Linked DNA regions of Homo sapiens: region 2 is linked to region 1. The links are contacts of gene promoters, found by promoter capture Hi-C in human tissues and cell types (Jung and others, 2019). All regions are on one chromosome and are shown on one strand. The core of a region is centred on a gene start or on the middle of the fragment in contact, and the rest is flanking DNA. Distances in the headings are between cores, read along the strand shown.

Region 1 (3,864 bases), core at 769-3,268:
ACCCTTACCCTGAGCCGGGCCAGACACCAGCTCATCTCAGATGCAGGGCAGCTCTCTGGACAAAACTCTCGGGGCAGCTGGCTGTGTCTCTCACTAGCTCAGCAGGCTTGGCCTGAGGCCCCTCTGCCCTCACTCAACCCCCTCCCCAGAATCCTTCCTGGGTTCCAAGTCGGCCCCTCATTATGGGGGCCCTGGCCCACGGTTCCCTGGGAGCTCTTCCTGCCTGTCGCTCGGGGTACATGCACGCAGGACTTACCGGCCCCCAATCCTAGCCCTGCCCTTGGCCTCCTTCCCTGAGACCTGGCCAGAGTCCCCCTTCACTGTGGCTGCTTCCAGGCAGCTCTGCAGGGAGGTCCAGAGACGGGGCTGACCCCATCCTTAGACTCCCAGGCCCCGTGACCCCTCTCCTGATATCCTCTTCCACCCCAGGGGACTCAGGGAGGAGGGGTCTCTGGATGTCTCTTTCCTCCCCTTGGGCTCCCACAGTGCTCAGCCACACCTGGGGTCTTGCCATGAATGAGTTCCCCCAGGCGCCTACCTGTGGGCCTTAGGCCCCGCCCAGCATTCCAAGGAGAGCCCCCAGCCCTCAGGCGTTCCTGCCACCCTGGGCCACGGGGCCCACTGGAGTCGTGGTATCGGAGAGAAATGAGTTTTTCCTTTTATTTGGCTGCTGCCCCTGCCTGCCTCTCCCGGATCCTGCCTCTCCCGGATCAGGCTTGGGCAGCAGCGCAGGCAGGGAAGGGGACTCCGCACTCATGTGCCCACGAGACCACAGCAGGCCCCACCCGCATTCCCACGCTCCCACACCTCCTGCCTCAAAGCCCTCACTCTCCTAAAAGCATCGAGAACACACAGGGCTCGGAGGCGCAGGAGTGCGAAGGCGGCATTCCAAGACGAGTTCGAGTCCAAGATGAGTTCAGGATCCTGAGCCTTTCTGGCAACTGCCTCCCTAGGCTGGGATGTGGGGGCGCAGCCCCAGGCCCCGGAGCTCCTTCTCTCTGCCCCAGGCTGGGATGTGGGGGCGCAACCCCGGGTCCCGGAGCTCCTTCTCTCTGGCGAGCTCCTTCTCTTCCACGCCAGGTCTCAGCCGGTCCAGTTCTGCTCTGTCCAAGACGCCTTTGCAGTCCCGGGTTTTATAGTCCAGCTGCCAGCCCGGCCTCCCTGCAGCCCAGCCGGTGCCTCGAGGCCGGTCAGGAGCGCGGATGGCCCATCCCGGGGGCGGATCGCAGGTAGCCCCGCGGCCAGGGAGGCGGCCCGGCAGAGGAAGCCCCCGGACAGCGGCGCCAGCTTCCCCCGGAGGCCTGTGCTAGGCCCGGCCCCTCGGCCACCGCACTGGGCCGTGCCAGGGGCGCGTGCGGGGGGCACGAGGCGCAGCGGGGCGCGGACGGCACCGAGGGGCGGGCGGCGTCTGGGCGCGCGAGGCTGGGCCCTGCAGGCGGCGGGGGGCTGGCGCCTGTGTCCCCGGTGTCCCCGCGCGCGGCCGGGCCGTGGCACTCCAGGTGTCCGCAGGGCCCGCGGGGCGCGGGGCTGGCGCGCAGGACCAGGGAGAGCGCGGCGATGCGGTGGATGGCCCTGCGCAGCGTGGCGATCTTGGAGAGCCTCTTGCCGCCCAGGTCGTGCCGCAGCGCCCGGCGCAGCGCGTTGAAGGCCTCGTTGTAGTCTAGGATGCGCTTGCGCTCCCGCACGTTGGCGGCCATGCGCCGCGCCTTGGACCGCACCGGCCGCGCGCGCCTCCTGCCCGCCGGCTCCTCCGCCTCGCCCCGGCTGCAGGAAGCGCCGTTCGCCCCCAGCACCCCCGAATCGCCCCCGGGCTCGGGGCAGGGGCCCCCCAAGTCCTCCGCAGAGTCCTCGGCCCCCTTCCGCGCCGTGAGGCCTAGTCCTGGCGCGCCCCGCAGCATGGCCTTCCCGGGCACTCGCCCTCTGCCCCAGCCCCGGCCCTCTGCCCTCTGCCCTCTGCCCACTGCCTTGGCCCGGCTCGCGACGCGGACGGTCCCCGGCTCCTGGGGCTGGACACTCCCGAGACAGGCCCCTTCCAGCTGGGCTTTATGGCACCACGCGGCGCCCCGCCCTCCCGTCCATCCATCTCCCTCCTCCTGCTTTATTATCGGCCTCCAGGTAGGTCGGCGGGGGAGGAACCGAGGGGAAGAAGGAAAGCAAGGAGGGAAGCTTGCAGGTTCTTGTAAGCGGGGACCAGACGGGCAGCCCGGCCACGCTGCCCCGGGGACCTTGCCCTGCCTAGCTCTGGGGCCGCTGTGGGGTGTCTGGGTTCCACATTCTTCCTCCCCATTCCCAGATAAGGTGCTAAGTTTGGCTTCTAGCAGGAGAGCTGATAGGAATAAAAAGAGGCAGAGGGCCGGGCACTGGGGCTCACGCCTGTCATCCCAGCAGTTTGGGAGGCCGAGGCGGGCGGATCACTTGAGTTCAGGAGTTCGAGACCAGCCTGGCCAACAGAGTATATAAAACCCCGTCTACTAAAAACACAAAAATTAGCCGGGCGTGGTGGCAGGCGCCTGTAATCCCAGTTACTCGGGAGGCTGAGGCAGGAGAATGGCTTGAGCCCAGGAGCTGGAGGTTGCAGTGAGCCGAGATCGCACCACTGCACTCTAGCCTGGGAGACAGAACGAGACTCCGTCTCAGAAAAACAACAACAAAAACAACAACAAAACCTTGAAAGTTCTTGTCAAGTCCCGTGGGCAACCACAGAGATGTCACTGAGGAAAAGCATGAGTGTCCCGGCAGGACTCATATGGGAGGCGCAGGGCCCTGCAGGTAAAGCTGACCCAGAGCTTCCGGCTTTTTCAGCTATGGAGGGCGGCTGGCTGCAATTGGGGTTCGGGTTTTGGTTGGGCCTGACTCTCCCTCCACTGCCCTTTGACTCCCCTTCTGCAGGCAGAGCTGGGATGAGTCAGCAGCAGAGGGTGACGGGGAAGATCCCTTTGCAGCCCTGGGTCCACATCAGGGGCATCTTTGGGGTCCAGAGCCCTCGGGCAGCCCCATCTTGTGACACAGCCCTGCCAGGTTATGAACTCAATGAGCAGCCTCTGTCCTCTTCCCCCAGGGATTTGCATTTGAAAGAGGGTCTCAGAAAAAAGATGATGTTTATTCCCAAAGAAAGACCCCCAGTAGAATTTCCGGCATCCACAGCTGAGTTATTTGGAGCGCCTGAAGGCCACTCATTCCCAGTCACAATCCAAATGCCTCTAAGATGCCAAGGCCTATGGCATTGGAATGGGTGTGTGGTTCACATCCATCTCGCCAAAAGAGCATTGCCAATAACCCCATTATTTCAAACTGTGAATTTCTCCATAAAAGAAAATAATAAGGCATTAGGAAGCAGAGTGTATGTATTTACTTCTGTGATTGTCTGCCTTGCCCACTAGGATGAAAGCATCCTAAGGACATCTGTATTTCCCAGGTTCTATGTCCCCCAAATCTGCAATATATGTCGAATTATAAAACAGCTAGAGGCCGGGCGCAGTGGCTCACGCCTGTAATCCCAGTACTTTGGGAGGCCGAGGTGGGCGGATCACTTGAGGTCAGGAGTTCAAGACCAGCCTGGCCAACACGGTGAAACCCCGTCTCTACTAAAATACAACAATTAGCTGGACGTGGTGGCGGGGAGCCTGTAGTCCCAGCTACTCGGGAGGCTGAGGCAGAGAATCGCTTGAACCAGGGAGGCGGAGGTTGCAGTGAGCCGAGATCCCGCCACTGCGCTCCAGCCTGGCGGACAGAGCGAGACTCCGTCTCAAAAACAACAAAAAATAAACCAGAAAAAAAAAAAAGGTCAGTAAAAGCAAAGAAAATGCCCACGCAGCGCGCGTTTCCCGGTGGCGTTTCCCGGCCGCTCCCGCCCTTCCCCGCGCA
Region 2 (3,864 bases), core at 1,059-3,558, 560 kb before region 1:
TCTGTAATCCCAGCACTTTGGGAGGCCGAGGAGGGTGGATCACCTAAGGTTGGGAGTTCAAGACCAGCCTGGGCAACATGGTGAAACCCCCGTGTCTACTAAAAATACAAAAAATTACGCAGGTGTGGTGGTACATGCCTGTAATCCCAGCTACTCTGGAGGCAGAGGCACGAGAACTGCCTGAACCCAGAAGGCAGAGGTTGCAGTGAGCCGAGATTGCGCCACCGCACTCCAGCCTGGGGCGGTAGTGGGGGGGTATGGGGAGAAAGAGTGAGACTCTGCCTCAAAAAAAAAAAAAAAAAAAAAAAAAAGGCCGGGCACAGTGGCTCACGCCTGTAACCCCAACACTTTGGGAGGCCGAGGCGGGCGAATCACAAGGTCAGGAGATCGAGACCATCCTGGCTAACACGGTGAAACCCCGTCTCTACTAAAAAATACAAAAAATTAGCCGGGCGTGGTGGCGGGTACCTGTAGTCCCAGCTATTCGGGAGGCTGAGACAGGAGAATGGCGTGAACCCAGGAGGCAGAGCTTGCAGTGAGCCGAGATCGCGCCACTGCCCTCCAGCCTGGGCAACAGAGCAAGATTCCAGCTCAAAAAAAAAAAAAAAAGTTCAAAGGCCCCATGGAAGAAGGTAGGAGTATGGAATATACCAGAAATCTAAATTTAAAAAAAAATGTGGGGGTGACTGGAGAGGTAGGCTGAGAGTATGCTGTGGATGGGAATGGTGGCAGGAACGTATGCTGAGTGGAAGTCAGCAGCTCAGGCAAAAAAAAAGACGGTGCCAGTATGGATGGAGAGAAGCCAGTGGGCTTGATAGATCTACGCAGAGGCAAAATACACTTCACTTCGTGAGGGACTGGATGCCCAGGTAATGGACAATATAGGAGGAATGATTTCTCAATTTCTGGTTAGCACTGAACTGAATAGATAATGGTGCCATCCGTGGAGATAGGGATCAAGAGGCCCAGACTTAGAAAGATAAAGAATTTGCTTTGGGATACGTATACTGAACTTAAAACCCTCTGAAGCATGGAATAAGCAGACAGATGACGGAAGTTTGTCTTTTAGAGTAAAGGTGGCTCTGTACAAAGAAATTTGTGAGCAACTGACATATATTAATAGATGGCAATGGAATTGCCTTGGGGCCAGGCGCGGTGGTTCATGCCTGTAATTCCAGCATTTTGGGAGGCCGAGGCGGGCGGATAACTTGAGGTCTGGTGTTCGAGATCAGCCTGGCCAACATGATGAAACCCAGTCTCTAATAAAAACACAAAAAGTAGCCGAGTGTGGTGGCGCACACATGTAGTCCCAGCTACTCGGGAGGCTGAGACAGGAGACTCACTTGCACCCGGGAGACGGAGGTTGCAGTGAGCCGAGATCGCGCCTCTGCACTCCAGCCTGGGCGACAGTGAGTGTCGCCCAGGCTGGAGAAAAAAAAAGAAATTGCCTCGGGAGTCAAGAGGGCCTAGAGGGAGCCTTGATTCAACAAAAATTTACAAAGAGGGACTTACAAATAAGACGGGGATAGACCTGCCAAGCTGAGCCACTAAAAACCAAGGAAGAGGGTGTGACCTGAAGCAAGCAGGGCTTAAACGCAAACGCTGCTGAGAACTCAGGTAAGCTGAAAACGGAAAAGGGCTGGATTTAGCAACTTGGAGGCCACTGGTACCTTCAGCCAGGGTTTTCTACAGCGATCAAAGGGATGACTGGAGTGGGTTAAAGAGTTGATGAAAGGCGAGGAAAGGAAGTGGCTGAAACCAGACAAGAAGTTTGGCTGTGGGTGGGGAAAGGAGAAGAGACAGAAAGTGTCCGCAGGTGGAAGATGCAGAGAAAGGCAAGCGTTTATTTAGTTTGTTCTTACGTAGGAAAAATGTGAGCATGTTTTAAAGACGATCGAAAGAATGCTTTGAGGAGGGGGCGATGACACTAGAGGGACGCCCGGCGGGTCCCCACCGCCCCCCGCCATCTCCTCCCCTCGCGTTCATCCCCCGTCGCCCCGGGCTCCCCTCCCCCTCTCTACTCCGCGAGGCTCGGGGCCGCAGCCACCCCGGACCGCCGGCCCAGCCCCCGGCACCTCCTCACCGCAATGGCCCCCTCGCTCAGTTGGCCGACCATGGCTCCACCGCCAAGACTTCCCCGCGGACCCCGCAACAGCTCCAGCTTCCCCACCCGGGTCCCGCGCGCTGCGCAGTTATTGGCCCGAGAAGTTGCGCGCACCGCTCCCGCCCCCGACGTGCGCGCGGCTCAGGGGCGGGCCCGGGCGCTACGCAGCCGCCGCATTGGCCGAGGCGCGGCCCACGTGACCCACCCATGGTCCCAAGCGAGGCCTGGCGCGGGACGCCGGACGCGGTGCGGGGCGGAGCGGGGCGCCAAGGGGCGCGCCAGGAGCTGCGCGGGCGCTGGGAGGGAGACCAGGGCGCAGTTCCGGGCGCGTCTGAGCGGTTCTCGAGGCGTTCTCGCCTCGGTCTCTGGCGAGTGCACGGGTTGGTATCCCAGAGGAGGTTAAAGCTGTTCCTTGAGACCTCCGCTGCTAAATAGAGTCGCAGTAGTGACCCGATTCGTCCAGCAACGCGGGGCTGACTTCCCGCCTCCAAGCCCTGAGCTTGGCACCGTGGCGGTGGGGGGTGGGGGTGGGGGGTCTCCGAAAGGGAATCAGACCCGGCCCCCGTCCTTAGAGAAGAGGACAGTGTGTGGGGGCACTTTATGCCGTCAGTAACCCCACCTCCAGGTAGACGTGGTACAGGCCCCAAGGGTGTTGGAATCACAGCTGGGAAATCAGGGACGCCGTCCCGGAGGAGGTGCCATTTGAGCCGAGTCGAAGAACGTGTGGGAATTTTCCAGGTGGACTCCATAAGCCAGGGTAGGGTTGGTCCGGAAAGCATGAGTAGCCTATGCCAAAACATTGGAGAGTTGAAATAGCCTGGCAAGCCGGGGATAGCAATGAGTTGTTCAGTATGCAAGGGTGCATGCAGAGGAGTAAGTGACACCTGAGAATTAGAAAGTCAGACAAGGGTCAAGTAAGGATGGTTTTGTCCTGGGCTTCCTGGTATGCTTGGAGTAGCGTTGATGAATTTAAGGGCAGAGCACTGACTTCTGTCTCAGTGTTGGAGGCTGGATTGAAAGTGGGGAGTGGTGCCAATGGCATGGACATTAATTATAACACTCTAGGAAGAATGCCAGACGAGATGGTGAGGACTTAATCAGAACGCTGAACTATGTAAGAGAGGGAAATACCTTGTTAAATGAATAGTTGCTGGGGTGGGTGAGAAAGAAAAATCTGGGATGTGTCTCAGAGAAACTAGAGAGGGATCAGGCCGGGCGCGGTGGCTCACGCCTGTAATCCCAGCGCTTTGGGAGGCCAAGGCTGGCGGATCATCTGAGGTCAGGAGTTCGAGACCAGCCTGGCCAACATGGTGAAACCCCGTCTCTACTAAAAATACAAAAATTAGCCGGGCGTAGTTGCGCGCATCTGTAATCCCAGCTACTCGGAGGCTGAGGCAGGAGAATTGCTTGAACCTGGGAGGCGGAGGGTGCAGTGAGCCGAGATGGTGCCACTGCACTCCAGCCTGGGTGACAGAGCAAGACTCTGCCTCACAAAAAAAAAAAAAAGAGGATCTAAGAGCACAGATGGTAGCTATCTAGTCTGCTTCGTCTTTGTATAACCATCACCTGCATGGTGCCTGTGACAAAGTAGTCTTTCAGTAAATATTTCTGAATGGAAGGATGTTGAGTGAATTGCTGTGAGAAAATATAGATCCTTCCTTAGCATATAAACTAGAGGAAAAGACCACAAGAATTGATTTTATTGTTTCAGGCTTCCTTGAATGAAATCTTGATTTTCCTTTTTTTTTTTTTTCCGAGAC

The links. The method cuts DNA at HindIII sites, captures the fragments that hold promoters and counts their contacts. A contact is called where the count stands out against the background at its distance.
Region 2: a contact is called between the fragment with the promoter of SMYD4 here and the fragment with the promoter of BHLHA9 in region 1, in 2 of the 25 tissues and cell types used here (small bowel and spleen).

What each region holds. Positions count from the first base shown.
Region 1 is chr17:1,268,598-1,272,461 of GRCh38, reverse strand. BHLHA9 (basic helix-loop-helix family member a9) reads right to left here and starts at 2,018. Exons shown (of 1, transcript NM_001164405.2): 1 at 647-2,018. The coding sequence starts at 1,898. The coding sequence ends at 1,191. RefSeq lists enhancers at 866-1,616, 3,221-3,864. The HindIII fragment of the contact is 29,201 bases long and covers 1-3,526 here.
Region 2 is chr17:1,828,346-1,832,209 of GRCh38, reverse strand. SMYD4 (SET and MYND domain containing 4) reads left to right here and starts at 2,308. Exons shown (of 11, transcript NM_052928.3): 1 at 2,308-2,484. It overlaps RPA1 (replication protein A1), which reads right to left and starts at 2,205. Exons shown (of 17, transcript NM_002945.5): 1 at 2,084-2,205. The coding sequence starts at 2,116. RefSeq lists an enhancer at 809-1,309 and a silencer at 1,937-2,456. The HindIII fragment of the contact is 28,265 bases long and covers 1-3,864 here.